Regions from separate parts of the Homo sapiens genome. Here regions 1, 2, 3, 4 and 5 are each linked to region 6. Evidence: promoter capture Hi-C in human tissues and cell types (Jung and others, 2019). All regions are on one chromosome and are shown on one strand. The core of a region is centred on a gene start or on the middle of the fragment in contact, and the rest is flanking DNA. Distances in the headings are between cores, read along the strand shown. Region 1 holds the start of SOX8 (SRY-box transcription factor 8). Region 2 overlaps CRAMP1 (cramped chromatin regulator 1). Region 3 holds the start of GNG13 (G protein subunit gamma 13). Region 4 overlaps JPT2 (Jupiter microtubule associated homolog 2). Region 5 overlaps CRAMP1 (cramped chromatin regulator 1). Region 6 holds the start of UBE2I (ubiquitin conjugating enzyme E2 I).

The links. The method cuts DNA at HindIII sites, captures the fragments that hold promoters and counts their contacts. A contact is called where the count stands out against the background at its distance.
Region 1: the fragment with the promoter of SOX8 here is called in contact with the fragment with the promoter of UBE2I in region 6 in 2 of the 25 tissues and cell types used here (lymphoblastoid cells and pancreas).
Region 2: a fragment that was not itself captured here is called in contact with the fragment with the promoter of UBE2I in region 6 in 5 of the 25 tissues and cell types used here (dorsolateral prefrontal cortex, lymphoblastoid cells, mesendoderm cells and 2 more).
Region 3: the fragment with the promoter of GNG13 here is called in contact with the fragment with the promoter of UBE2I in region 6 in 1 of the 25 tissues and cell types used here (dorsolateral prefrontal cortex).
Region 4: a contact is called between a fragment that was not itself captured here and the fragment with the promoter of UBE2I in region 6, in 4 of the 25 tissues and cell types used here (IMR-90 fibroblasts, dorsolateral prefrontal cortex, lymphoblastoid cells and 1 more).
Region 5: a contact is called between a fragment that was not itself captured here and the fragment with the promoter of UBE2I in region 6, in 1 of the 25 tissues and cell types used here (dorsolateral prefrontal cortex).

What each region holds. Positions count from the first base shown.
Region 1 is chr16:980,242-983,618 of GRCh38, reverse strand. It overlaps SOX8 (SRY-box transcription factor 8), which reads right to left and starts at 1,849. Exons shown (of 3, transcript NM_014587.5): 1 at 1,275-1,849. The coding sequence starts at 1,696. It overlaps CEROX1 (cytoplasmic endogenous regulator of oxidative phosphorylation 1), which reads left to right and starts at 2,006. Exons shown (of 3, transcript NR_164343.1): 1 at 2,006-3,377. It also overlaps a transcript of LMF1 not described here. The HindIII fragment of the contact is 8,118 bases long and covers 1-3,377 here.
Region 2 is chr16:1,633,165-1,636,472 of GRCh38, reverse strand. All of the region lies in intron 4 of CRAMP1 (cramped chromatin regulator 1), which reads right to left. Among named protein-coding and RNA genes, the nearest start is that of CRAMP1, 22 kb to the right of the region's middle. The HindIII fragment of the contact is 4,859 bases long and covers 1-3,308 here.
Region 3 is chr16:798,739-802,155 of GRCh38, reverse strand. It overlaps GNG13 (G protein subunit gamma 13), which reads left to right and starts at 1,422. Exons shown (of 3, transcript NM_016541.3): 1 at 1,422-1,490; 2 at 3,045-3,176; 3 at 3,332-3,417. The coding sequence starts at 3,079. RefSeq lists enhancers at 84-633, 634-1,183, 1,184-1,733. The HindIII fragment of the contact is 13,916 bases long and covers 1-3,417 here.
Region 4 is chr16:1,699,080-1,702,304 of GRCh38, reverse strand. It overlaps JPT2 (Jupiter microtubule associated homolog 2), which reads right to left. Exons shown (of 5, transcript NM_144570.3): 5 at 219-3,225. Among named protein-coding and RNA genes, the nearest start is that of MAPK8IP3, 5.5 kb to the left of the region's middle. The HindIII fragment of the contact is 5,896 bases long and covers 1-3,225 here.
Region 5 is chr16:1,671,402-1,674,719 of GRCh38, reverse strand. It overlaps CRAMP1 (cramped chromatin regulator 1), which reads right to left. Exons shown (of 21, transcript NM_020825.4): 21 at 1-839. The coding sequence ends at 675. Among named protein-coding and RNA genes, the nearest start is that of JPT2, 5.2 kb to the left of the region's middle. The HindIII fragment of the contact is 5,726 bases long and covers 1-3,318 here.
Region 6 is chr16:1,308,286-1,311,414 of GRCh38, reverse strand. UBE2I (ubiquitin conjugating enzyme E2 I) reads right to left here and starts at 1,779. Exons shown (of 7, transcript NM_003345.5): 1 at 1,642-1,779. RefSeq lists enhancers at 658-1,269, 1,971-2,210 and silencers at 1,241-1,430, 1,631-1,930, 2,421-2,710. The HindIII fragment of the contact is 23,762 bases long and covers 1-3,129 here.

The sequences.
Region 1 (3,377 bases), core at 600-3,099, 330 kb after region 6:
CCAGGGAAACCCGCCTGCCGTGCGCTCCGGAGCCTCCCGTGGCACCAGGCAGTACACTCCTCTGGGAGAACCGGCCGGCGCCTGTTTGGGAAGGTTGGTATGCTTACGACAGCCAAAGAAGAACAAGCCCCACGCCTCCCATCTTCCTCCTTCTATTTCCCCCTATTCCGGGCCTGCTGTTCCCTCCCTCTGGGGCTTTCTAAGGGAGGCGGGGGAGGCGGGCAGGACCCAGCCGGCGGTGGACAAAAGCGAGGCTTCCCGGGAACGGTGCCGGCCTTCGGCGGGCAGCTGGGCTGCTGTCCCTCCATTCCCAGACACCCAGAAGCCCTGGCAGGGCCCAGGCGCCCGTCCTCACTGAGCCACAGGACACACTCCTTGGGACTCTTCCCGAGGCTCACCTCCAACCGCCTGTGCGGCAGGACTTGGGGGAGCAGGGGCCTGCCGTCCACAGCGCCCCGTGGCTGCGCCCTAGATCCAGACAGAAGGCAGGAGGTGCAAATACGCAAGCTCCAAGCTCCCTTCTTCCAGGTGAGGAGCAGGATACGGGAACCAGAGCCCCAAACCAAGAGAACCATTTGAAACCCAACCAGAGGACACTCGGTGGGGGCGGCCTGTCCTGAGCAACAAGTTCTTCACTCTGCAGTCCTAATTTCTGGAAAACTGACCGGCCCCACCACGCCAAGGCGTGCACACGGCGCACCCCGTCATCTCCACTCCTGCCCTCCCTGCTTCGGACCGAGGGTGTCCAGGAGAGGGAGAAACTGCGGGGAGGGTACTCGCAGGCAAACCTGCTGCCCACCCATCCGCCTGCCGCACTCCCTCCCCATGGGTGGTCCAGGAGCTAGAGGAGCTGAGCCCTTTCTAAGGAGGGAGCACCTCCAGAGAGCCGCATGCAACTTGCTGTCGTGCCGGGCGTGCCTCCCGGGGCTGGGGCCACTCGCAACGGCTGGAGGGCACGTCGGGGTGCCAGCCATGGCCCTCCGCAGGGTGTTCCCCGCCAGGAGAACTGGCTCCAGAGCGCACCCGCCACGAGGGTGCACACCCCAGGCGCTGCCCTCCGCGGATCCCGACTCCCATAGCTGGCGCCGGACCCCGGCTGGCCAGAGGATGTTTTTCCACTGGGACCCGCCCTGACACCCGCCCGGGGTGCAGAGCCCGGAGCCTGCGTGTGGCCACCACCTCCGCGAGCTCTGCGCCCTCCAGGCCCCCGCTCGCAGTCCGAGACCAGGGGCGGCCAAGGTCCCGAACCCCGCCCCCGGGGCGCCGGCACTCACCGCCACAGCTTGCCCAGCGTCTTGCTGAGCTCGGCGTTGTGCAGGTGCGGGTACTGGTCGGCCAGCTTGCGGCGCGCCGCCTGCGCCCACACCATGAATGCGTTCATGGGCCGCTTCACATGCGGCTTGGCTTTGAGCGCGCCGCCGCCGCCGCCGCGCACCGGCATGGGCACCAGACTCCAGTCGTAGCCCTTGAGCACCTGCGACACGGCGTCGCGGATGCAGGCCGGGAAGCGCTCGTCCGCCGCCTCCGCCGGGTCGCCCCGGGCGCCCCCCACCGCGACCCCCGCGCGGCCCAGGCCCTCGGAGCCGGCGGGAGACGGCGGCGCGTCCGAGTCCGAGTCCTCCACGTGCGACATGGAGCTGGCGGTGCCGGACGGGCTGCAGGGCGGCTGGGAGCGGGCCTCGCTCATGTCCAGCATCGGGGCCGCGCGCGGAGGGGCGCGCACAGGAGACGCGCACCGGGGCCGGCGCCCGGGGCTGCCCTGCGGTCGCTCCGGGACCCGAGGTCGCCGCGCGGTGGCCCCGACCCTCGCCCCTGCCGCCGCCGCCGCCGCCGCCGAGGCTCGGGTCCCGCTGCGGGACCCGCAACAAGTTTCTTTAAGCGGCGGCCCCGCGGCCCCGCCCCGCGCCCGGCTACCCATTGGCGGAGCGCGCCCCGATCCCCCGGAGGCGGAGCCCGGCCGCCCCCGCCCCCCCACCCATAAAGAAAGCTCCGCGGCTCTCGCCGCGCCCCCGCCTGCCCCGCCCGGCGCCGCACCACGTGGGCCAGGCGCCCCACGCCTGGAGCTCCCCTCTCTGGAGCCCCGGGAAAGGAAGCGGGGCAGGGAGGCCGGGTGGGAGCAGGGGGGTCTCCGGCGCTTCCTCTCCTCTGCGGGCGCCGCGCGGCTCCTGAGAGTCCGCCCCCCGTCCTGACGCTCAGCTAGGAAGCGGGTCCTCGGGCCCCTCCCCCGACACACACACACACACACACACACACACACACACACACACACACTCTCTCTCTCTCTCTCTCTCTCTCTCTCTCTCTCTCTCTCTCTCACACACACACACACACACACAGCCCGTCTCGCGCCTGAGGTCTCGCCCGCAGGCCGGTGGCGCGGGGTCAGCTGCTGCCTGCGGTCCAGGACAGGGTCGGTTCCGCCGCGCAGCGCCCAGGCCCAGCTCGTCCAGAGTCTGCGGACAGCGCACGTCCAGGTAACGCGCTTCAAGGGGCCGCGGCTCGGAGCTGGGGGACCCCGGGCCGCCCTGCCCATACGAGTGCGAGCGTGGAGAGCGCGGGCGGGGGCGCGGTCCCGGGGGCCGGCCAGCTGGAGGGGGCGGGAGCGCTGGGCGGGGCCTGCGCTGACCCCGGCGCTGAGTCCCTGGGGCCGCCGGGCGGATGGCGTGGCCGGACGCGGGGGCCCCGGGCCTTCCGGGCGTGACCTAGGGCTCGGGGGCGGGGAGGCCCCTCCGGCGGGGCGGCCCTGGGTGGTCCGGCAGAGGCGGAGGCCGCTCCGAGCCTGTGAGCCCTGGGCGCCTGCGGAGGCGGGGAGAGGGCGGGGTGTGCCGCCCTGGTGGGGACCGCGGGGTCGGAGAGGGGACATTGCCCCCCCCGAGGCGAACGTCCAACCGCGGGTCCGGGTCCCCGCCCAAGGCCGCCCCGCGAGGTGGCCTCGGCCCGGCCGTCCCCGAGGGTGGCTCGGATCCTTTCAACCAGCGCGCTGGAGGCGAAGGGGCTGCGCCATTCCGGGTCAGGCAGCCAACGCGGGACACGCGCGTCTCCGAGCTTGCGGCCCGCGAAACCCGGGTGACCTACCGCGCCGGTGCCCTCAAAGCCCCCACGCCCGGGCCGGTGGCCGCTGCAGCCACTGAGCCACGCGGTCTCCCCGGCCCGGTCGGCAGAAGGAGCTGGTCCGTTACTAGAAAAGTCCAGATGCAAAGTCGGGGGTCGTGCTGCCGCTTCCTGCCAGCGCACCGCACCCACCTGGGGCCGCCACCGACCGCACAGGACGCGCCTCCTACCCCCTGTTCTGGCCCGGCCGAGAGCTGGTGCCCCCAGCGGCCGCCCGCCCCCGTCCGCAGACCCCGGGGCCCTTGCTGCTTTGCATTGGGAACAAC
Region 2 (3,308 bases), core at 28-2,527, 330 kb before region 6:
AAGCACAGGCCAACTGCTCTCAAAGGCTCTTCTGAGAGAAAGACCTAAGACCTAAGGGCTCATCAGACTTTCTTTTTTTCTTTCTTTCTTTTTTTTTTTTTGAGACAGAGTTTCGCTCTTGTTGCCCAGGCTGGAGTGCGGTGACGCGATCTCAGCTCACTGCAACCTCCGCCTCCCAGGTTCAAGGGATTCTCCTGCCTCAGCCTCCCAAGTAGCTGGGATTACAGGCATGCGCCACCACGCCCTGCTAATGTTTGTATTTTTAGTAGAGACGGGGTTTCACCACGTTAGTCAGGCTGGTCTCAAACTCTTGACCTCAGGTGATCCGCCCACCTCGGCCTCCCAAAATGTTGGGATTACAGGCGTGAGCCACCACGCCTGGCCTCATCAGACTTTCTTAAAGGAGCCCATGACTCGGAAAGCTTTAAGATCCACTATTCAGTAGACAAGCAAAATGTGGCCATCCACCCAAAGGAAAATAATCCAGCCATACAAAGGACTGGCACACGCTACAACACAGACAAACCCTGAAACCTGACGCTGAGTGAAGGAAACCAGGCACAGAAGGACACATAGCACGTGATCCCATTTCTATGAAACATCCAGAGTAGAACGATCCATAGAGACAGGAGGTAGTAAACTGAGGGCTCCCAGCACCGGGGCACAGGGTTTCCTCCTGGGCAATGGACATATTCTGCAACTAGAGAGTGGCAATGGCTGCATAACCTTGTAAGTACATTAAGAACCACTAAGTTGTATGCTTTAAAAGGGTGAATAATATCCCCATTTCTAAAATATATATTTTAAAGTCCACTATTTGAAATGGCAAAAAGAAAAAAACCCACAACCCAGAAACAAGAAAGTAGCACCAAGAGCAAGACACTGCAGACAAGGGACCCCAGGGGAGGTGGGACCCTGGGACGAAGCAGGGCTTCCGGGAGGTGTCCCTGATGCCCCGCCTGGCCCCACGGCCTCCTAGGTGGCACCTCATGTTTTATTACACACTCAGGGACAGGAACCAAGCTCACCTCATCCAACTTTGAGTTCGTGAAGCAAAATCTCCACTGAGCAATGGACAGCAGCAAGGAAACGCAGATGTGCATGGAAACCACGGGAGATTAGTAAGACGAACACACACGCAAGGCCCCCAAGCTGGGGGCGGAGTCAGTCCCTTCCACGCTCGCTTGCCACCACTCTGTGTCTCACGCCACAAGATGAGTCAGACAAACCCATGATAAAGTGCACACGGTGTGCTCTTCAAAACTCCAAAGCACAGGCCAGGCGTGGTGGCTCACGCCTGTAATCCTTGCACTTTGGGAGGCCGAGGCAGGTGGATTTCCTGAGCTCAGGAGTTCAAGACCAGCTTGGCAACATAGTGAAACCTCATCTCTCCTAAAAAATATAAAATTAGCTGGGTGTGGTGGTGCACACCTGTAATCCCAGCTACTCGGGAGGCTGAGGCATGAGAATCGCTTGAAACTGGGAGATGGAGGTTACAGTGAGCTGAGAGTGCGCCATGGCACTCTAGCCTGGGCAACAGAGCAAGACTCTGGCTCAAAAAACAAAACAAAACAAAACTCCAAAGCACGCCAAAAATACATGTAACGTGAAAAAGTTGCCACTCTGTTTGATGCGCAATGACAGTCCATGGGGCCAGTCACTTCGCAGTGTCCTAGTGGCCTCCAGCCTCATGCTCCTGTTGGGCAAGTCAGCATCGGGTGCCCCAATGCCGCTGCCCGCTGGCACGGAGGCAGACAGCCCTGCTGAAGAGACAGTCAGGGCCATCAGAGAACCCGGGAGAACACGGGAGAACGGTGAGCTCAACAGGAAGAAGGCACATCATGTGGGGTCACACCAAAGATGCACGAACAGGAGACACCAAGGCTGTAGGAGCCTGCTGTGCCAGGTCAGGAAGAGAGGGAAGCACAGGGGCCCACACGGAGAAGGGAAAAGGACCTGTGTTGGGTGTGACCCCCCACCGAGAGGTGTGAGGGAGCATTTACCCTTCACCCTAGATGGACAGAAGGGCCAAAGAGGAATGAGGCCTCCTCGCACCAGCAAGTTTAGGATTAGGAGGTTGTTTAACAGGGAAAGGTGACACAATTAGAAAAGAAATGTTTGCTTTGACTGCCTTCTGAAATTGACATGGGAGAGAGCCTGGGTTGGCAAGTAGAATGTGCATTTGAACCTCAGAAGAGGAGATAAGTCTACGCCAGGAGCCTGAGGGTCCAAAGACGCTTCCCACCCTGCCCGCAGATGGTTCAAGCAAAGCACACTAGACCGAAGCTCCTGGAATCCCATCCCTCTCTCTATACCTCATCTACTAAACAGCTGCCCAGTCCCCTCCGCTGCTGGCCAGCTTCCCCCATAGAGAGCTTTTCAAGACCAGCCACAGTGGATGGCAGATCTGCTCTCATGGACTGACTTTCTTTCTTTTTTTTTTTTTGAGACGGAGTCTTGCTCTGTGGCCAAGCTGGAGTGCAGTGGTGCAATTCTCCTGCCTCAGCCTCCCGAGTAGCTGGGAGTACAGGTGTGCACCACCATGCCCAGCTAATTTTTGTATTTTTAGTAGAGATGCGGTTTCACCATGTTGGCCAGGATGGTCTTGATCTCTTGACCTCGTGATCCGCCCGCCTCTGCCTCCCAAAGTGCTGATTACAGGCATGAGCCACCGCGCGCAGCCTGGACTGTCTTTCAAAAAGGCACTAATGAACGATGCAAAGGACAGACGACACAGGAAGAGGCCGACAATGAAAAGTCGGTGCTGCGTGCCACTCTGGAAGGCACAAGGCCACTCACCACAACCTGACATTAACCACAACAGCCTTGGATGACGGGATCTGACCAGTGCTGAGATTTCAAATAAACAAGTGAGCTGAACATGAGAAGACCAGCACAGGCATCAAATATAGGACAAAACGGAACTGATGTGCTATAAATAGGTGAAGTCAGCAGAAAATCTTACATGAATGGTCACGTGGATACCAAAAGCAAACAAACAAAACCGCATCGGCGGCAGACCCGAATCAAGGGGTACCCCTAATGTGCAGAGACCAACAGCCGTTTCCATGGATCTCCAGAAACGGTGACAATCTCCCAGTGGAGGTTCTTCAGTGGAGAAGCTAGCTGCGTGGTGGGCAGGGGGTGTCTGCGGCCCTCAGGGCTCTGCCCAGTCACACAGGGGAGCTGGGTCCTGGCTCTTCCCAAAGCTCCGGGCAAAGCTGATGCACCATGGTCAAGATGCCATAACCCACCCAGAGGACACCACAGGAATGGCCAAGGCGAAGGACTTTAGGTCACCACGAGGC
Region 3 (3,417 bases), core at 173-2,672, 510 kb after region 6:
GAAACTAAGGTGCATCCGAAGTCACAGCACCAGGGGGCACAGGCAGGGCAGGGCGGGCACTGGGATCAGGGAGACGTCTAGCCCCCACCATGCCAAGAGGGGCAACCATCTGCCCTGAGGAGGAGGCCTCGTGCCCTGGGCTTTAAGCTGCCCCACCCCACCCCCAAATCCATAATAAAAATAATCCCTTCCCTAATGTGCCCCAGTTCCAGAGGCGCCTCTGATCCAGCCGACACACATCAGGGCGGGAGGTGCAGGTGGCCCCGATTCACGGAGTCACACTGGCAGGGAGTCCTGCTGAGTGACTTCAGGGACCTGAGCGCCTGAGAGGGACAGGGCCCACCTCTCCCCGACAACCCCTGCAGAGGTCTGGGCCACCCCAGGCAGGCCGGGCGGTTCCCTGTGACACTGGGGAAGGCAGAGTGACCTGCTCACAGGCCCCTGGCCCTGCCAGCACCCACCGAGGGCCTGGCCCACGCTTCCCCGGGGGTGGCCCAGCTTCTGCAGGGACTGTTTGGGGAGCTTGGCCCTGTGCCCCCAGAGGCTGCTGTTGCTGCCTGGGCGCCCCCACCTAGGATGCAGCCTGGTATGTACGTCACCTGCTGGTACATAGGGCACAGCTCCCACAGGAGCCCAAGGGGTACACCCAAGGGCAGGGTGGGAGGAGACACGGGGAAACGTGTCAGAGGAAAAGGGGCCAGTCTCAGCTCTGCAGGCTGACAGGTGCGGAGCCCCAAAGGGAAGCCCTCTCCCCAGAGCCTTGAGGTCACACAACCCGAGCCCAAGTGCTGCAGCTGGGGGCACCTCTCCCGAGGCAGCGTGCCCCAGAGCACCCACAGTGGACCGGTGTTGGGGACGCCTCAGGCCGCCACTCTCAGCTCAGATCAGACTGAAAAGCACGGCACTCTCCTGCCCTCGGGAGCTGCCCCGTGCCGGCCACTGGTCTGGGAACAGGGGATCGGGCTGGAGCAGGGAGCTCCACAGAGCCCCGGGGCCCCTAGCAGTAAGAGGCTCACATCCCAGGGTGAGCCACATGGCCCACACAGGATGCCTCTGTCAGGGGGGCACAGCTGAGTGTCACCTGAACCCTGCAGGCTGCAGAGGCTTCAGAGGGCAAAGGGTCCCAGCCCCATCCCCACTCCTCCCGGCTGGCCCAGGACACTGGAGGGGGAACCCACCCCCTCAAGTGGAAGGAGACCTCTCCACCAGGGCCCAAGCTGGCCCCTCAGGGAAAATGGACCAGCCCCACACTGGCCCCTGGCTGCATGTCCATCCGCTGGGTGAGCCCAGGGGAGGGGGCAGCACAGGCTATCTCTGGGGTCAGCCCAGCCCTGAGGAGGGTGTGGGGGCGGCGCCAGGGCCCAGGTGGCGGGAGGGGCGGGGCACAGCCAGGGCTCTGCCTGGCGGACTCCCGGAACATCACTTGGCCCTCGCTCTCACTCGCGGTCGCCTGGCCGTTGTCATTGTCCCTCCGCTGTCACCTTTTCAAGGTAGGTCCGATGAACAGGCGCCCGGGGCTAGGGAGGGCCCGGAGGCCCCTCGACTCTCAGCTGGCCCAGGTCAGTCCCCTGGGCTCACCCTAACTCCCGGGGCGAGGGCAGCTGCCCCGCAGGCAGCAAAACCCAACCCGAGCCGGTGCTGCAGGCAGGGAGGCGGCTCTCGCGGTGCGGGGGAGCTGTGTCCATCTGAGCGCCGTGCGCCGCCTGCAGTGCCCACCGAGTCCCGTGGCTGGGGGCGTCCACGGGGTGCACGGGGTGGGTGGCCAGGCTTGGCGGCAGCTGCGCGAAGGTAGGGCTGGGCAGCAAGGACTGGGCTGTGGGCGGGGCGCCAACACCCCGGGCCTGGGAGGACCCGCACGCAGCTAGTCCTGCGCCCACGGGGCTGAGTGTAGGGTCTCCGAGAAAAGGCCTGCACCGGGGATGGGGGCGGGTAGGGGTGCTGGAACTCCAGAGTCTCCGGGAGGGAATCCTCTGCATGACCCTGATCACTCCCCCAGAAACCTGCCCCCGCTCGCTCCCCGGCCTCCCACCCCACTACGGGCAGACCCTCTGCTGGCTGCTGGGAGTCTGCCCAATTCACCACCGGGACCCCACCAGCCTCAGGCCCTGGGCCCCTCCCTAGGTGGCCGGTGCAGCTGCACGACCAAAGGATGGGGAGACTGTTGGGCCAGGAGCCCCCTTCACAGCCAGAGGCAGGCTCCCCGAAACTTGACGCCAACCCCCACCCACCCTCCCAAGGTTCAGCCCTGTCTCCCAACCTTGGGGACGGGGGCCAGAGTTGGGACGGAGTGAGGGACTCCCTGGGCCCCTGGAGTGGGTAGGGGGAGAGGCAGGGGGCAACCCACCCCCACTTGCCTCGAACTTGTGGCAGTTCTGAGGGGTGTCAACCTGTGGCTTTCCCAGGCTGGCCACAAGCAGAAAGCACGCAGGTAACGTGTGTGGTTCCCAGACACACTGGGGACCCAGGGGCCACCCACAGCCCATATCCCAGACTCGGGTAGTATAGCCTGAGCCCCCAAGATCCTGAGCACACACCCCACCTGCCAGAGAAGCAAACTGCAGCAGAACATTCCTGTCCAGGAGTCCTGGCTCTGGACTGGGCTCTGCCATGCAAAGCAAAGGGGCACACAGCGGGGCGGGGCAGGGGCCACCTCCTGAGGACCTCGCCCCACACCTCACACCGTGGTCTGGGTCAGCCTGCGTGGGCCTCAGTGGGAGGGTAGGAGCTGGGGGCCTGCCGTGCTGAGCACCCTTTCTCCTGCCTGCAAGGGATCTTCGTAAGGTGTGGGGGCCTATGGGGGAGTAGCTGAGGATGTAAAGTTTCTTGCAGTTAATTAGTCCCAGTGCAGGAGGCGGGAGCTGGGGCCTTGTGGGAACTCGCTCTGTGCCCTGCACCCTAGCAACGCCTAGGGGACTGGCCCAGGCAGTGGTGTGGACTCTCCCCGCTTCATCCTGCGGGGTTCAGCTCAGGCCTGCGGGGAGCAGCGGGGGTGGGGACTACAGGCTGGTGGCCTCGGCCCTGTGGCTTCCTCCTGTGCCCTCCAGCCCCAGGCTGGCTGCTTCAGAAGCCCCTGACCCCATGGAGGAGTGGGACGTGCCACAGATGAAGAAAGAGGTGGAGAGCCTCAAGTACCAGCTGGCCTTCCAGCGGGAGATGGCGTCCAAGACCATCCCCGAGTGAGTGCCCCACCTGCCTGATTTGCCTCTCATTTGTCTGCCCTGCGCTGGCTGCTCATTTCCATAGCCACGACCACCGCCGCCGACAGGCAGGTGCAGCAGGAGGCCCTCGGGGGTCAGGTGCCACCACTCACCTGCCACCCGCCCACCCGCAGGCTGCTGAAGTGGATCGAGGACGGGATCCCCAAGGACCCCTTCCTGAACCCCGACCTGATGAAGAACAACCCATGGGTGGAAAAGG
Region 4 (3,225 bases), core at 640-3,139, 390 kb before region 6:
GATGAACAAGTGAAGACGGTGTTTCAGTTAATGCATGTTGGTTTTCTTTCTCAAGCGTTGACTTTCATCTCATCTGGCCCCGATCTAGCAGGCAGAATGGTGTGGAGCCTCCTAGAGAGGAACTCTCAGGCTCACAGTCTGAGAAGTTTACCCTGAATCCACATAATGCCTGTAAGGATATTAAGTATGTTAGAAAACATATGAAAATAGCTAATACATCAGAAGAAAGACATCCAATCTGTTTTTTATTTTATTTTTTTACACAGGGTCTTGCTCTGTGGTCCAGGCTGAAGTGCAGTGGCATGATCATCACTCACTACAGCCACAACCTCCTGGTCTCAAGTGATCCTCCTGCCTCACTCAGCCTCCCGAGTAGCTGGGACTACAGGCATGCACCACCACATCCGGCTAATTTAGAGAAGTTTTTTTTTGTATAGACAGGGTCGTAGTATGTTGTCTAGGCTGGTCTCAAACTCCTGAGCTCAAGTGATCCTCCCACCCTGGCCTCCCAAAGACCCAAAGACTACAGACCTGAGCCACCATGCCCACCTGTTTTCTTGACAGGACTTGCATATGACAAGCTCTCTGCTTCTCCTCACCTATGCATTGCAAGCCAGGTCAGAGGCAGGTTAAACACCTTAAGGACATGTTAGGACAAGTGGCATACAAGGGAAAAAAACCCGTTCATTTAAGTTACAGAAACAGAAAAAAAAAAACTGGCTTATTCCCACACTTACTCTACTCAAAGCTTTGAGAAGACTAATTTTGGCATCCTCTGGCTAAATACAAAACAACAAAACAAAACAAGGCAAACTCTTTCAGCAAGAGCTGTGGGGGAAGGGACTATAAGGGACACACACAACTGACAGGCAAAAGCTCTGAGCACGTGATTGCTAAGTTTAATTCAACTGTTACACCCCATTCTGCCTTGTAAAAATAACAAAACGCTCCTATCAAAATGACATTGTGATGTGAGTACAGGCTTTTTGTTTTGGTACAGCTCTAAAAAATGTTGGCACCGAATGCACTTAAGAAAAGTGTTAAGGCTTAATACAAATACAGAGACGAGTCATTTCTCAATGCAGCTTAGAGGGTGAGAACAGGATGCTAGGTTTTTAAATCTTCCAAATACAGGCAGTCCCCAACGTACAGACATACAGGACACCTCCCAAATGTAAACGACAGCCACACAGCAGGGCTTGCATGCGCAGGAACTCTTCTTCTCCCAGTGAGCAGACTAAGCACTCTGAATCCCACCCCACTGCCTCGCAGAGGGAAAGAAGGCAGGACAGATGCAAGAAGAGTAATGTCAGGGGCTCCATCACAGCTGCCCAGGGGCTTCTGCTGTAGTTCATATTTTCCTCATTCCCATCTCTGGTTTCTCCCATAACCCAGAAGTCCCTGCCAGGGGCGGAAGTAAAGAGCTTTTCCTCTCACCTAGCGGACTGCAAGGGCTGGGAGAATCACAGGGCCCAGTACCGTCACGTCCTATTTCTTCCTGGCAATCTGATTTGGAATTCGTGAATCATTTTCTCAATAAAAAAACAGAAGTTATAAATGGTAGTTCATTTCCACCATTAAACTGTTTCCTTTCAAGTTGCATCAATGACTTTGAAGCACAAACCACCTGAAGTGTGTGTAGAGTCACACAGAGTGTTTCTTGGCTCCAAAGTCTACAGGCAATCAAAAGGGGGAAGCTGTCTTTGGTTGACAAAGCCTTGTGCAGACCCCAGTGTGCCAGGTGTAGGAAGGGGAGCTTGGCAGGCGGCTCCTGCAGGCACTTAAGCAGTGAGGCAGCATGAGCCTGACTGAACATGGCTGCTGCTTTTCTGAAGTTTAATAATGATGATGTTTCTAGCACCAAGCATTAGCTTTGTAGGCACTCAGAGCAAAGCTGCTGCCGCCACCCAGACGTTCTCCTCTGTTAACAGATGCCCACCCAAGGGCAGCATGAGAACTGGGCCTGCAGCCCTTGAGGGGGATGGGCAGAGGCTTCTGCCTGAAGATGAAAGCACCACCACCTTTGCCATCCCATTAGCTGAGTGAGCAAAGCTCAGGGAATTGGACAGGTGTGACTTTGCTACTGAACTCCTTCATCTCCTGGCCTAAGGTCTCTAGTCTCTTCTGGAAGCTTGTTTGTGAGTTAGATCCAGAAGTTCTATAAAGCTTTGTAGAGGGTGGCCTCCACAGCTCTTCTTCCTCTTTGGTGTACCTGAACAATTGACTTTTTTCTGGAAAGGTGTCAGAAACAGACCAGAGTCAACAATCATTTATGTAAAGCTGGTATTTAAAATTTAGCTTTTTAGATATTATTAAAGAATCCAAACCTAAGAACCCAAGGTTCCCAAGCATCTCTTCTTTCCACCAACCAATTAAGGAATAAAGAAAGACACAGGAAGAATTTAAACAAGCCACTTACTCGGAAATATCTGAATAGATTTTTAAAGTCCCGCAGAGGTCAGCGGGCCTCATTTATGGGAAGAACTGTGACTTGTGAAGGGAACTGTCTACATCACTGGAGAACAACAAACGCCTAAACTTAAGGCTGATGAGAGGAAAAAAGCAAGAATTCACAAGCAAAACTGGCATGTAAAGGACCAAGACCAGCCCTGTGTGAAAGACAGGCAGATTCCAACATGAGATCAGATCAGGCCGAGGTTTCAGATGGCAGGAACTGGGCACTTCAGAGGGTCAGGGCACCAAAACAATCTTCCATGAAGTAGAAGACGGATAACTATTATTATTTGGTTTTTTGAAAGCTGCCGAGGAAAAGCAATCAAGATGTTTCAAGAAAAGACTACAGAACAATATGCTGGGGGTAAAATGAAGTGGGGATGCTGGATTTAGCAGCCGTGATCTCCAGAATGGAAGCGGTTCTGCTAAGAGGTCAATATACTGTTAGTGTTTCTGCTTACGCCTCCTCCATCCCACAGCAGCAGTGGACAGGCTGTTTTGGTTTCTTTCAGTCATTCCTAGACATCCAATCAGCTGGCGGGCTGTTGATCCAAGGACCATGCCCTGCCCCACCTCCCCACCCTCACCCCCCTTCCAGTTCCTCTCAAACCTGGACTACACATGAGTGATGGCCAGGGGTGCCCCATTTCATCCCCACAGAGGCATCTCCCAGCCATCTGGAAGGCACGGGTCTCCAAGCAGCTGTCATGACGGCCAGGAGACGCTGAGCAGCCAGGCTCACATAAGACTAACCCTCTTCCCACCCCGCTC
Region 5 (3,318 bases), core at 588-3,087, 360 kb before region 6:
AACCTGCATAGTACAGGACTCTTCCTGCCCCCACTCCCTGTTAAGAGTACGAACAAAACCTCTAGGGAGGGGAGGCACCAGCCCAGGGCCCCACGACTCCGCAGCAGCCCTGTGATCGGTATCCATGCTCTTGCTGCCTTGGGATGTGACACCACCAGGCATGAGCCCAGGCCACACCCAACTGTCCTGCCCGTTACAGTCCACAGAGGGCACAGCTGATGCATAGCACAGGTTTGGCAGAAAGCAAGCAGCAGGGGCTGGGGCCTCCCTGCAGAGAGGGAGATCACAGCTCCTAGTGCACAGCAACTACACCAAGGCACACATACTCCCTTGTCTCAGAAGGAAATGCCACCGGAATGTCCAACACAACAATCGAGGCAGAGCACAGGCTGAAATGGGATCATTATGCAGACCCTAACATGGGCCCAGGCGTGGTGAAGAACGGCTCTAGTACCACAGTGATTTCTAACGCTGGCCCTTGCCAAGAACTCATCCTAGTCTCCTTGGACGCCGTTGCCTGCTGCTCGTGGGGAAGCAGCTCTGTGACCACGTTCCTGCCCGTTGCACAGTCTTGGGTGCGGAGATGCCTCTGTTCAGACCATCTTCTGGGGCTGCTGGGCTTATCTATTTTTCTCTAGCTCGAAGAGGGCTTCATCCGCCACCAGGACGTGTGGTCACTGGGACAGGTCACTGACAGCGGGGCCGCCTCCACCACCATCAAACAGAGCTTCTCGGCGGCCAGGCTCAGCGATGGACAGCTCTTGGGCCAGGTCATTGAACCGAGAAATGTAATCAATGCTGTTTTCGTTCATCATGCACACCAGCTGGGAATCCACAACCTGCAGGAAGAGGAGACAGGAAGAACAAGTCACCGCGACCTGCTGGCCCTTCAGTGGAGGGCGGGTCCTGAAACAGGACGAGAAGCTCCTATCGACTCCCGCTGCAGGAAGCTAAGCTAGGGATGGCAGCCCAGGGCTCTGTGCAGAATCACAATCACCTGTCGTCTGCCCGCACACTCTTTAGATAAGTGCTCGCAGAGAGCCTATGATGTGCCTGGCACATCTGATGGCTGGGGTGAGGGTGCTGGTCCCCCCGCCCGCCATGAGACCTATGGGGGAAGACACCCAACAGGTAGACAGACTGTATGCAGCAGACACAGGCACTGGGGGCAGCCTGCAGAAACAGATGCAGAGTGAGGGGACAGAGAGTGCCGGGAAAAGGAGGCCAGAGAGGGTGCTCCAAGGACTGGGACCTGAGCGGGAGGTGGGGTAAAACCCGAGGATACGTGGGGGACACGTTTCCATCATAGACATGAGGACAGGTGGGGGACACATTCCCATCATAGACATGAGGACAGGTGGGGGACACGTTCCCGTCACAGACATGAGGACAGGTGGGGGACACGTTCCTGTCATAGACATGAGGACAGGTGGGGGACACGTTCCCGTCAAGAGACATGAGGACAGGTGGGGGGCACGTTCCCATCACAGACATGAGGACAGGTGGGGGACACGTTCCCATCATAGACATGAGGACAGGTGGGGGACACGTTCCCGTCATAGACATGAGGACAGCTGGGGGCACGTTCCCATCAGAGACATGAGGAGAGCTGGGGGCACGTTCCCGTCAGAGAAATGAGGACAGGTGGAGGGCACGATCCCGTCAGAATCCCAAGGACATGTGGTGAGGGCACGTTCCCATCAGTCCTGAGGACATGTGGGGAGCACGTTCCCGTCAGAGACATGAGGACACATGGGGAGTACGTTCCTTTTTAAAGAAGCAACAGGCATGTTCCCTGAGACAGGAAGAGGCTTTGACTGAAAAGCACGACCAAGGTGGTGGCCATGACAGAGTGAGTGAGGCAGCACAGAGCTGAGGAGACGGAGGACGGGAGGGCCTCGGCACCGGGATCTTGTCCCATGAGCAAATACGTAGAATGTGCCGTTTTCAGCGCTTATTGTCTGCGTCCTGCTCTAGAGTAGAAGCCTCATGAGGACAGGGGCCATTGTTTGCACACAGCAGACCCTGCAGAAATATCCCTTAATGAACTGCATGACACTGTGAATGCAAGAAGTCTGGAAAATTCTGAATAGAGCTATGGCGTAAATGAAATTTTATGCTTTGATTATGGGAAATGTCAGACAAATTAAAATTTGTTTTCAAAAGCAGAGCAAAGAGTAATTCTCCTTCCCCTGTATGTCCATCAGCAGCTCCCACCCGTTTCATCCCAGGGCCACCCAGCTCCACCCCCGCCCCCTTCATGCTAGCCCTACCACCAGACCCTTTCATCCACAAATGCCTCAGCCCATCCTTCCAGATGACGAGGACCTGCTGAGAAACATACTCACGTTCTGAGTGGAGGGCTCTCGGGAAAATCTCATGCTAAACGCTGATCTGCTCTTTCTGAAGGTGAACACGTTTGCATTACTCGCGACGGGCAGCGTTTCACAAATACTAACTGCACCCTTTCTCTGCTACTCACTCCCAAGTGCCATCTGTTGCCCAGGATTTTATTAAAGGTGCAAATTCTGATTGGGGTGAGGCTAACACTCTGGATTTCTGACTCCAAGGGGCTCCTGTCACTGGGCTGTGGCCCGTCCTTTCAACAGCATGGCGTGAGCATGCTGCCTCAGGGCACGTACGCAGCGCCCATCTCCACAGAGCCCAGCACTTAGGAACATGCGCACAAACAGGGGAAGAGACAGAGACTGGCTTCTCGGGAAACATCAGAGTCCAAGGTGTGCCCTGAATAATGATTCTGGGGCCAAACAGGTTTGAGAAACGCCACACACTGTGAGATGGAGGTCTACGCTATTAATTGTGTCTATGTGTATATTTGGCTAAAATTTCCAGTCATATCATGGCTTGGCTTGGAATTCTCCAAAGCCTGCCCATGAGTTCATCATCTCAAGAGTCACGATTCACATTCGGATACTGGGTAGCGGAGGTGTCCGTGAGAAACAGCTGTTTTGAGCTTTTTTGGATCCAGGGTGTCCCTCAAGTATCTACCCACAAAATCCTCAAGGAACACCTGCCAATGTCTCAACATTGTGGGGACTAGATTCGGGGAATGCTGCTCCAGGACTTTCACATGGGCTAAGCCCATGCGGATGATCTCCTGGACCTGGAGTTCCCTCCCTGTCCATAGAGCCCTCACCCGACTGCCCACACACCTGCCACTCTGCACTTTACGTCACAGTGAAACGGGCCTGTCTTCACCCTGCAAGCCTGACCTGCCCACGAATGCCACACAAACCATGTGGTGGACGCCTTGAGGGCTACAACCAGATGGCCTGGCCAACAAAGAGGGACGCTGCA
Region 6 (3,129 bases), core at 530-3,029:
GCCACAGGTGCACACCCACCGTGTCCCAGACAGAAGCCAGGCCCCTCCCCCTGCACCCCCTCCTACTGGCCTTCTGGAGAAAGCGGCCAATCTGTTACAATGTAATCACAACACAGATCAAGCGTTCAAAATTCCGCTGAAAATCGAATTTGCCCTTCCAAATTCACAGATAGGCACTTAGTGAACGGCTAGTAGTTACTAAACGCTTCAGAGCAAGAAACTTTTATGATGCAAAGACAAAAACAACCCTCATCTATTAGAGCCAGGCAAGGCCCAGACACTGCAGAAACGGGGACAGGGCCGGGCACTCCAGGAGCGGCCCGAAAGTCTGCCTTCTGTCCTCCTGCTGGGCGCCCGCAACCGGCTGAGCTTTAGCTTCTCGGATCACCGCCTTGCTCTGCTGGTTGACAGCACCGACTTCAGAGCAACTTCCTGGCTGAGGGTGAGCAAAGCACTCACCTCCCACAACTCCACCGCACTGATCTCCACAACGGGTGGTCGCCACGACAGGCTGGCACAAGAAGCCTTTAAAGGCCCTCCTGCACCCAAATGCAAACTCTCCCAGGCTTGGGGAGGTATTCCCTTCTGCAAGACCCAAGCACCTGCAGTCGGGAGACGCTTACCTGGCCGCACCTGATCTGCCCCAGGCCCCGAGAATGTTTCTGAAGCAAGATCCCAAACCCTGAGACACCATACAAGCGCACACCAGCAATCACCCAGTGGCCTAGGGAACGGACCTCTCTGAATGAGCAATCAGGGCAAACTGAGGATCCGTCCCGTCTTCCGTTGCATAGGTTCTCTACCCAAAGGCAACGTTTCTTGAAGAGCAAGAAACACTTGGGGTAGGTCCTGTAAAAGGAAACAAACCGAACTCCCCAAAGACAGGCACTTTGCAAACAGAGAAACTAAGCGTAACTTCCAATTATACAAACAAAACCACTTCATTCTGCGATTCAAGCGTGACTACAGGCCACGATCACAAGCCCAACTAATCATTCCCTTACATTCCTCCTACGCACGTTAACTACCAGAACCAACTACTATTCAACCGATAAAAAGAGATGTCCAAAACAGAATAAAACTCCCCCTCCAGCGAGGCGCTCACGTTCAGGGCCCCAGCAAGCGCCAGCGGAGCATCTTCAGAGGCACAAGAAAACTTACACTTGTTTTGGTTTTAAGGCACCGAAAACAAGCCCGCTCGCCGGCCCCCACCCCCGCGAGCCAGCGATGTTGCAATCCAAGACTCTCCCCCCGCGGCCCATCCTATCCGTCCGCGGGGCGACCGTGACCCCGGAAGCCGCTCCCCGCGCAGGAGGAAGGCGCGGCCTCGCGGGGCCCCGGCTGCAGGTGGCTGCCCCGGCCCCGCGCCAGGCGCACCTCGGGGGCGAAGTGGGGGAGCCCCGGCCCCGAAGGCCTGCGGCGGCCCGGCCGCTCGGGCCGCAGCCCAGCGGCGCCAGCAGCGCGGACCGAGCCGGCGCCGAGCGCGGGGCCTCTCGGGCTCCCCGGAAAGCTCGGCCGCGGCGCGGGGCCCGGCTCGGCGGGGCGGGGCGCGGGGCAGTCGGGGGCCCGGGCCCAACAGGAGTAGAGGCCTCGGCCCGACCCCCGCCCCGCGGCCCCGGCCCGGCCCCCGCACGCGCTCACCTCGGGCGGCCGCAGCCCCGGCGAGCGTAGCGGACAGGTGGAGGACCGAGCGGGGCGGCGGCGGCGGCGCTTCCCTTTGTCTCGGGACTTCCCTCCGGAGCCCGCTCCGCGCGCAGCCAGAGCAGCTCCGAGGACCCTGGCGCGGGCGGGGCGCGCGGGGCGGGGCCTAACGCGGGGCTGCCCTCTGCACGCCTGCCTCGCGCGCCGCTCCTGCCGCCCGGCCCCGAGCGCCTCCCGCGCCGCCGAGCGCTCCCCGTTGCCCGCGCCCCGCCGCCGCGCGCCCGCGCCCCGGGTCCGCCCCAGGAGCCCGGCCGGGGGGCGACTTTCCAGTCAGGCGGCGCCCTGGACACCTACGCCCTTAAAGGAGCCGCGTCCCCGATGTGAGGGAGCGTCTGTAAACTCCCCTTCGGGCTGCCCGCGTCCACCCGAGGACACGCCGGCAAGCAGCGGGGGAAAAAGGAAGCCGAGATCTCCAAAGGCTCCCCGGATGCCTGGCGGTCACCTCTCCAGCCACAGGTCCCGGAGGTTTCCTTGGGGTCAGGTCCTGGGGCCGGGGGTCAAAGACCACTGAGGCCTAAGGATCCTCTGAAGCGTCGCAGGACGGTGACGCTCCCGCGAGTTCAGCGCCCTGTGAAACCCCTTGCAATTGGCCAGTTCGGGGCGGTAGGCGGGGACACCTTCTCATCCGCCCAATGAGCTGACCCCGTACAAAAGGCCGAATGCGAGCATGACCGACGGGAGGAGAAGTGTGGATGCTCCCTAAACCGGGGGCTGGCCCTGGGCCGGGGCGCGGGCGGGACGTGGGGGACCGCGAGCGGCGGGGGCGGGGCGAGCCCGTGGGGGAGGGGCGCTTCCGGTCCCCCCTCCCGCCCACGCAACAAGCAGGACCGGGTCGGGAGGCCCCCAGACCCGCGAGCGCGCGGGACAGTCCGTTCGCCAACGCGCGACCGTGCTGGCCCCCGGGCTCTCCCGGCCCCCCCGCCCGCATTTCGCCGACGGCGGGGCCGCAGCCAAGGTCACGGTGTCCGGGTGCTTGGGGACCGCGGGGAGTGACCACATTCATTCATTCCCTCCCTCACTCATTCATTCATTCCCTCCCCTACTCCGTCATTCCCTCCCTCACTCACTAATTCCCTCCCTCCCTCACTAATTCCCTCCCTCCCTCATTCATTCGATCCCTCCATCACTCAATCATTCCTTCCCTCTCTCACGCATTCCCTCCCTCACTTACTCATTCATTGCCACCCTCACTCACTCATTCCCTCCCTCACTTACTCATTCATTCCCACTCACTCATTCCCTCCCTCACTCACTCATTCCCTCCCTCACTCATTCCCTCCCTCACTCACTCATTCCCTCCCTCACTCATTCCCTCCCTCACTCATTCATTCCCTCCCTCACTCACTCATTCTCACTCTCACTCATTCCCGCCCTCATTCATTCATTCCCGCCCTCATTCATTCATTCCCACCCTCATTCATTCCTTCC